Linked DNA regions of Homo sapiens: region 2 is linked to region 1. Evidence: promoter capture Hi-C in human tissues and cell types (Jung and others, 2019). All regions are on one chromosome and are shown on one strand. The core of a region is centred on a gene start or on the middle of the fragment in contact, and the rest is flanking DNA. Distances in the headings are between cores, read along the strand shown.

Region 1 (4,473 bases), core at 528-3,027:
TTTGCTTCTCAAATAAGCCCATTGCCTCTGAAATATTATCAAGGTACAAAATAATTATTCCTTTTTCCTTTTGAATTCTGAACCACGTGAATCTATTACCTATTCAAAAATAATAACAGTAATTTTTAAAATTTTTATAATGGCTCAGAACAAATCCAAACTCCTGGCTAGACACAGTGGCTTACCTACGCCTGAAATCCCAGCACTTTGGGAGGCGAGGTGAGAGGATTGGTTGAGTCCAAGAGTTGGAGACCAGCCTGGGCAACAAAGTGAGACCCCACCTCTACAAAAAATTAGCCGGATGTGGTGGGGTCTGTAGTCCCAGCTACTCTGGAGGCCGAGGCAGGAGGTTCACTTGAGCCTGGGAGGTTGAGACTGCAGTGAGCCGTAATTACGCTACTACACTGTAGCCTGGGTGACAGAGCAAGACCCTATATCAAAATAAAAATAAATAAAACAAAACAAAAACAAATCCAATCTCCTTTCATCTTAGCATTCAGGGACCTCAAAATCTGGTCCCAGACTTCTTTTGATTTCATCACTATCTTCTTTTATGTGCTCAATAAATTTAAACGATTATTATACTCCAATCCAACCAAGAACTGCTTAGGGATTCCCATTTTCTTTTTTTGGGGGGAGGGATGGAGTCTCGCTCTGTTGCCCAGGCTGGAGTGCTGTGGCATGACCTCGGCTCACTGCAACCTCCGCCTCCCAGGTTCAAGTGATTCTCCTGCCTCAGCCTCCCGAGTAGCTGGGACTACAGGCGAGAGCCACCACGCCCGGCTAATTTTTGTATTTTTGGTTTCACCATATTAGCCAGCCTGATCTCGAACTCCTCACCTTGTGATCCTCCTGCCTCCCAAAGTGCTGGGATTACAGGCGTGAGCCACCGCGCCCTGCGGGATTCCCATTTTCTTTTTGTCTTTGCTGCAACCATCTCCTCCCTAGGCAAAGCCCAGGGATCCTTTAGATCCAAACCAATTCATCTCTTCATCAACCACCCGCCACCCATCCCAAACAAAAACATTTAACCCTAAATCTTTGTAAATCCCGTTTACAAGACACCAAGCAACCTAATCTGCATTACAATAATCGGGGTGGGTGTCTAGCTTCTCCAACAGAGCTGTAAACTCCTTAGGGTGTAGGTAATTTGTCATTTATCAGATGACACCTCCCCCGCCCTCTGCTGCTGCAGGAAGAACCAACTAAAGCATGAATGAATGAAAGCCTGCACACACCAGGGGCCCGCCTCAACCCTCCTCCTCTCTTGGAAACACGCCTCCTGCGGGAGGCAGCGGGAGGAGGTTCACGCGGCATGACCGCGCTCTTGTCCTCCCGACGGCCTCGGAAGGTAAGGGGCGACGGGGGCCGGCTGGAAGCTTGGCGGGGCACGTCACCCACTGACCCGGCCACTCACCAGTGCACCAACACCGCACGGCCCTCAGCGCGGGCCTGACCGATGAAGGCCACGCACCGGTCCAGATGGCTGAGTAGGTCCGTCTCGGGTTTGTCCAGCGCTGGCACGAAGAGGCGCCATAGATCCTCGACCCCAGGCCCCGCCTTGAAGCTGGGCTCCTCCGAGTCCACTGTTAGCACGGCCGTGATGCCCGCTTCCCTCAGGTGATCTGGCTCCGCGACGGCCGCGGCCCCACCGAAATACAATCCTGGCTGCACTTCCAGCATCTGCCCGGCACAGCTGACTCTGCTGGCGCTGGGGTTGCTGAGCTCGCAGCCATCACTCGGGCCCGGAGCCTCCAACATGGCCGCGCCCAGAGACAAGGCGGCTTCCTGCCCTACCATCGAGTAGACTCCGGCTAGAACATCCTTCCCCTGGGACTCGCCAGCCTCGGCGGCTCTGCTGCTCCCTCGGAGGACCACGTCGGCCGCAGGAATCTGGACTTATCGCTGAGGGGCGGAGCTTCGGCCCCATTCAGCGCGGCCTTTCCACCCTTGTTCCCTCTGACCCCTACCCCCAAAGTTGATGGTGAAGGATAAGCTTCCCCAAATACAGGGTTTCTCGAGCTCTTAGTATTGAAATTTTCAGGAAAGAGACATCAGGAGCAGCTGAACTCAAATGTGAAATAAATGTCGCACCAGCTGAATCAGAAGCATCATTTTATGCATTTGAAGTAAAATTTTTTTCAATATTATGGAGCCATCTTTACTGTGCATTTCATGATTATTTTTCCTTTTTCTGCCCAATTTCATTATTGGGGTGTGAATCCTTGTTGATGTTTACTGTCTATTTATTTTGAAGATACTAATCCTATATTTTTGTAAGTCAATGTCCTCCGGCCAGGACTACAAGAAACCAACTTTAATTAAGCAAGTTGGTTTTATTACTCAGTCATGAGTTATGGAGAATTTCAGGGCATCTCAGCACGAGGATGTTAGGAAGATCCTCTACAGATTTTGGGCTTTTATTTGGGGATTTTGGAAAGGGTTGAAGGAAGCAGGCTTTGCTCCAGACTGAATGCTGCAGGAAGATACTCAGTACAGTGAGTATATTTTATATATCTTTTGTATAGGGAGGACAGGTGAGAGAGATACTAAAGCTGTAATTGGTCAAGAAGTAGCAGCTATAGTACTGGTATAAAGATAGATACATCGACGTGTCTCTATTCTGGAACAGAACAAACCCTTGCGTGTGGAGTCCTAATTAGGGAAAAGGAGTCAGGCTGGCTGGACGAAGGGAAGCAAAAGGAGAAAGCAGACAAGCCATAAGTCTGCCTTTCTTCGTGGTCCAGGACACATAGCCCTGCTGTGCAAATAACTCACAATCTGCCTGTGCCCAGCCATCACCAGACCCTCAGCTGATAGAAAAATGGAAGTTAGTTCACTGCAACCCTGGCATTATTAGTACTGCACAAAGCCCTCTTCCACCCACAACATAAGCACCATTCTACAAAATCCCCAGCAAGCCTTTGTTTCCTAGCAGTCAGCTTCTCTCTTGCTGACCTGCCTGTTGCACCCTTGCAATGTATTTTCATACTTTATCTAATAAACCTGCCTTTCTTTACCTACAACTGTGTTGGTAAATTCTTCCTACCACCCATGTCACCAGCCCAGAAAGCTGCTAATCACCTGCAACACTGCATATATGTTAGAATAATCTTCAAAAAGAGTGCCAAGACCACACAATGGAAAAAGGACAATCTCCTCAACAGTGTTGGGAAAAACTAGATATCCACATGCAAAAGAATGAAGATGGACCTTTACCTTGGACCATACACAAAAAATAACTCCAAATAGATTAAAGACCTAAAAATATAACATTCTTAGTAGAAAACATAGGGGGAAAGCTTCATGGCCTTGGATTTGATAAAAATGTTGAAACAGGTAAGGGTTAATGGTCTCATTGTCTAAGGTGTTATCCGAACTTGTCTAACGACCGAGAAAACTAAGGAGCATGGGCACAAAGAGTGAGGTTGAAGCAAAAGTTTAATAAGCAAAAGAAGAAAGCTCTCCACAGCAGAGAGGGGAGCCCAAGTGGGGTGCCATTTTTACAGCTGAATTCAAAACCTATTATAAGAAACTCCTCTCATCTCTATAGTTGTTTGAGTAACTTCTCTTATGAATAAATCTGTCTGTGCAACTTCCCTTATCTTCTGCCGATGTGGGTATGTCTCTAGGCAAGCACAAAGCGTGGGTTCTCTTGTTTGTATCACTGTAGGTTTGTTTTAGGTAAGCCCCCCTCCTTCCTGTGCAAGTTCCCACGGAGTCCACTGTGTATATACCTGAAAAGGGGAGGAAAGTTTTTCCTGGGAGCTCGCCAATTACACGAAGAATGAAAAGCGTCTGTGCTGGACCCTACCTGCTTATCTGTGCAGGTGCAGCCTGAGTTTTGCCTAAGCTGCTCTATTTTGTTTGTAGCTGTGATTTTTCAGGCAGACTGCTTCTCCAAGGGCTAGCCTTAGCTGTCTACCTAACTGATTTTTCCTTTTCTTCTCCCTCAATTTTTTGGATAAAATACCAAAAGCACAGGCAACAAAAGCGAAAATAGACAAATGGGACTATATCAAATTTTAAAGTGTCTGCATATCAAGCAAAACAGTCAATAGAGAGAAAAGGAATTTGTATGGAATGGGAAAAAATAATTGCAAAGCATATATCTGATACGTTAATATGCAGAACATATAAAAAACTCCTACAACTCGACAACAGAAAAACAAGTAACCCAATTTTCAAAAAACTGGGCAAACGACCTGAATAGACATTCCTCCAAAGAAGATATACAAGAGGCCAAAAAGCATAGGAAAAGATGCTCAAATTGCTAATCATTAGAGAAATGCAAATCAAAACTACAATAATAATATCATCTTACACCCATTAGGATGGCTAGTATTTTTTTCAAGCACAGAAAATAAGTGTTAGCAAGGATGTGGAAAAATTGGAACGCTTATGCATTGCTGAAGGGAATGTAAAATGGTGCACCCACCAGGGAAAACAGTACGGAGTTTCCTCAAACGATTA
Region 2 (4,473 bases), core at 1,228-3,727, 140 kb after region 1:
CTCAATGTTGCCCAGGCTGGAGTGCAGTGGCGTGGTCTCGGCTAGCTACAACCTCCACCTCCCAGCCGCCTGACTTGGCCTCCCAAAGTGCCGAGATTGCAGCCTCTGCCCGGCTGCCACCCCGTCTGGGAAGTGAGGAGCGTCTCTGCCTGGCCTCCCATCGTCTGGGATGTGAGGAGCCCCTCTGCCCGGCTGCCCAGTCTGGGAAGTGAGGAGAGCCTCTTCCTGGCCTCCATCCCATCTAGGAAGTGAGGAGCATCTCTGCCCGGCTGCCCATCGTCTGAGATGTGGGGAGCGCCTCTGCCCCGCCGCCACGTCTGGGATGTGAGGAGCACCTCTGCCCGGCCGCGACCCCGTCTGGGAGGTGAGGAGCGTCTCTGCCCAGCCGCCCCGTCTGAGAAGTGAGGAGCCCCTCCGCCCGGCAGCCGCCCCGTCTGGGAAGTGAGGAGCGCCTCTGCCCGGCAGCCACCCCATCTGGGAGGGAGATGGGGGGCGACTCTGCCCTGCCACCGCCCCGTCCGGGAGGTGGGGGGTGCCTCTGCCCGTCTGCCCCTTCTGGGAAGTGAGGAGCCCCTCTGCCCAGCCGCCACCCCGTCTGTGAGCTATACCCAACAGCTCGTTGAGAACGGGCCATGATGACGATGGCGGTTTTGTGGAATAGAAAAGGGGGAAATGTGGGGAAAAGATAGAGAAATCAGATTGTTGCTGTGTCTGTGTAGAAAGAAGTAGACATGGGAAACTCCATTTTGTTCTGTACTAAGAAAAATTCTTCTGCCTTGGGATGCTGTTGATCTATGTATGACCTTACCCCCAACCCTGTGCTCTCTGAAACATGTGCTGTGTCCACTCAGGGTTAAATGGATTAAGGGCAGTGGAAGATGTGCTTTGTTAAACAGATGCTTGAAGGCAGCATGCTCGTTAAGAGTCATCGCCACTCCCTAATCTCAAGTACCCAGGGACACAAACACTGCGGAAGGCCGCAGGGTCCTCTGCCTAGGAAAACCAGAGACCTTTGTTCACTTGTTTATCTGCTGACCCTCCCTCCACCATTGTCCTATGACCCTGCCAAATCCCCCTCTGTGAGAAACACCCAAGAATGATCAATTAAAAAAAAATAAAAATAAAAGAATAATTGAGGTCAAAAGTACAAAACGAGGTGGTGAAATAAATTCAAATATATCAGCTATTTTTTTTTGGAGGGTGGGTGGACAGAGTCTCTGTCACCCAGGCTGGAGTGCAGTGGTAGCATCTTGGCTCACTGCAATCTCCACCTTCCCGGTTCAAGCGATTCTCCCACCTCAGCCTCCTGGGGACTACAGGTGCATGCCGCCACACCCACCTAATTTTTAGTAGAGATGCGGTTTCACTATGTTGGCCAGGCTGGTCTTGAACTCCTGACCTCAAGTGATCCACCTGCCTCAGCCTCCCAAAGTGCTGGGATTACAGGTGTAAGCCACCATGACCCGGCCTATAACAGTAATTATAATAATGCAACTGAACAAAACCTTCCAGTTAAAAGATAAAGTGAATTTTTAAGATCAGTTTTATTCTGTTTAGAAGAATGACATTAAAATGTAAAGAAACAGAAAGACTAAATGGAAAAGGGAATGCCAGGAATATTCTAACAAAAAGAAAGTTGGCATATAGCTATACAATATCAGACAAAATAAAGTTTAAGAAATAATGCATCATTAGGGATGAAGATGGTCATCATATAATAAAAGATTAAACTACTGATGAATATATAACAGATAAAATGGCATTAAAATATGAAAGCAAGAATTAGGCCTACAAGGGAAAATGAACAAATCCGTCGCCACAGTGAGAGAATTCCGCATACTTCAACCCTTACTAGATCAAACAGAAAAAAATTATTAAGCGTGTGTCTCTTTTTCTTATTTACTTTTATTAAGCATATGAATGCAATTAACAAGCTCAATTTAACAGATATATATATATAGAACTGCAATCAATAATTATTAGTTGTACATTCTTCTCAAACTCACATGGGATATTATGAAAACTGACTTTATATGAGGCTGATAAGTTTCTTTTATTTATTTATTTATTTTTTTTTGAGATGGAGACTTGCTCTGTCACCCAGGCTGGAGTATGATGGCACTATCTCAGCTCACTGCAACCTCCGCCTCCTGGGTGCAAGTGATTCTCCTGCCTCAGCCTCCTAAGTAGCTGGGATTACAGGTGCGTGTGCCACCACACCTGGCTAATATTTTTCATTTATTTATTTTTTATTTTTAGTAGAGATGGGTTCACCATGTTGGTCAGGCTGGTCTTGAACTCCTGATCTCAAGTGATCCACCCATCTCGGCCTCTCAAAGTGCTGGGATTACAGGCTTGAGCCACCGCACCTGGCTAAGGCCAGTAAGCTTCAACATATGTCATGGAATCAGTACTATATGAAGCACATTTTCTGAACATAAGGAATTTAACTCAGAAATCAATAACAAAAAATAACTTTTAAAAGCCTTCATATATTTGGAAATTTAAAAAAACAAAATTTATGGAATGCAGTGAATCCTGTTATAATGGGGAAATGTATAGCCAGTGGCTATTCTGATTGGTCAGTGCTATATCTGTTAACTCCTCCACAAAAAGAATTATCTTCTGGGTTTTGCTTTTGGCTTTCCCTAGACATCCCAAAAAGCCAGCCCCCATACCTTGGCTGGCCACAGGGAACTCTAGGTGGCCACTTCCAGAAAAACCACTCAGTGAATCCCAACGTGAAGGGCTAACTGAAGCCAGCCTATGGCAGGTGTTGGTTATAGGTCCCTGTCCCTATATGTCTCCCAAGACAGGGCAGCCTGAACACTGATCCACTTAGCGATTGCGCAGTGTCAATCTGGCCCCACACAGCTGTGGCTAGCCACTACCAGTCAGTACTACCCTTTGGTTCTTCTTGCCTGTGGGCACTGCAGCCTCTGTGGGACCTTAGTACTAAGAGTCAGAGAATATCAGGGAGAACAGGTGGGCAGTAACAGGTTACATTGGAGGCATAAGCTAGATGCTGTGGCCTCCACTGGCACAGCTGGTCCTCTTGTTACAGGATGGAGGCTGTGGGGCAGATGAGAGCATAAGGGAGGTTTGGAGCTAAAGGGTGGCTGAGGTGCAGATGTTCTTTCTTCCCATCCCTGTTGAATTTCACCTCCATTTTAGGGAATGAGACTTAAAATCTCAAACATCATCCCACTACAGGCATTAACAATGGACCCTCCTGGCAATGTTTATACATTTGTAATATATGTTTATATATTAACCCATTGAAGAATTAAAATTATCATCATTATCCTCTTTTACAGGAGGAAATGGAGACAAAGAGAGCCAAGATTCAAACACAGGAAGCACAACAGAGCCCATGCACTTAATCTTCACACTGTGTTGCCTCATCCAGCCTGAATGGTTAGGGTCAATCTAATTATATATGTCATTCCAATAAATGACTTTTGTATAATAAAAGATAACGGATACATAAAACCCTCAGACAGTATTTTAAAGGCTGGAAAATTTGTGAATACAATTGCTGTTAGTTCAACCGGTGACAAAGAACTCAGTATCATAAACAGCATGTTAGGAAAAAGTTTCAACTTATCGAGACTACAAGTCATCTAATGACTATCAGTTTATTAGGAAATTATCAAAAGAGTTTGATTCCCAGCCAAACTGAATCCCTGCTTCTCTCCCATGTAACTCAGTTCCAAATCAAATGCACAGTCCAGTACATCTGAGCTTTTTGCCAGCAGAGAGGGGGCCCGAATGAGTTGCTTACTATGAGGCCACTTGGGGGGGGGGGTTTATGGACTGGAAACGGGAAGGAATGTGCTTAGTTTGCCGGCTGTTTTGGAGAATGCGTGATTTAGGTTGGCCTGGGACCTTGGCCTGGGACTAATTAGAAAGCTTGGCCCGGGACCTTAGCCTAGGACCTCGGCCGGGAATAATTAGGGGCTTAAGTGATGATTTGTAGAGGCTAGCGAATGAACCTCGCAAGTGAAGACACAAGAGCCCCTTTCTGAAGCTAAGACTCATCCCAGGATTGAAATGATCCCAAAGATTCCTCAAGAGTTGGAAGTTTACAAAGGAAGGAAGGGAGGAAAGAACCATCAGAATTTAATCCCTTCAAAAAAAGCCTGGGTTTAGAAAGAGGCCAGGGGAAAGACAGGAAGCGAGTACGGAAAGTGAGGTATTGCTGCAGTTTCGTTGAGGCGTAAAACGAATACACAGCGCGCTGGAGGCTCCGGCTCAGAAAAGTTTTTCGTAGAAGGAAAGACAAAAACGTTTCGTTACCCGGGAATCGAACCCGCGTTAACTGCTTGAAAGGCAGCTGTGCTCACCACTACACCACCAACGCGTCCCCGGTTTGGAATTTTAGAAATCTATATATAAGATAAGCAAAGCGTATGACTTTCCCGACCGTTCTAGCAGTGTCTTTTGTTTATGATCCTGAGGTTAAACATGCTA

The links. The method cuts DNA at HindIII sites, captures the fragments that hold promoters and counts their contacts. A contact is called where the count stands out against the background at its distance.
Region 2: a fragment that was not itself captured here is called in contact with the fragment with the promoter of DUSP12 in region 1 in 1 of the 25 tissues and cell types used here (H1 embryonic stem cells).

The regions. Positions count from the first base shown.
Region 1 is chr1:161,747,090-161,751,562 of GRCh38, reverse strand. DUSP12 (dual specificity phosphatase 12) reads right to left here and starts at 1,777. Exons shown (of 6, transcript NM_007240.3): 1 at 1,418-1,777. The coding sequence starts at 1,761. RefSeq lists enhancers at 761-1,407, 1,469-1,978, 3,550-3,599, 3,700-3,779. The HindIII fragment of the contact is 4,457 bases long and covers 1-2,649 here.
Region 2 is chr1:161,612,608-161,617,080 of GRCh38, reverse strand. No RefSeq gene overlaps it. Among named protein-coding and RNA genes, the nearest start is that of TRL-CAA6-1, 2.8 kb to the right of the region's middle. RefSeq lists enhancers at 4,113-4,162, 3,907-4,473. The HindIII fragment of the contact is 6,825 bases long and covers 1-4,473 here.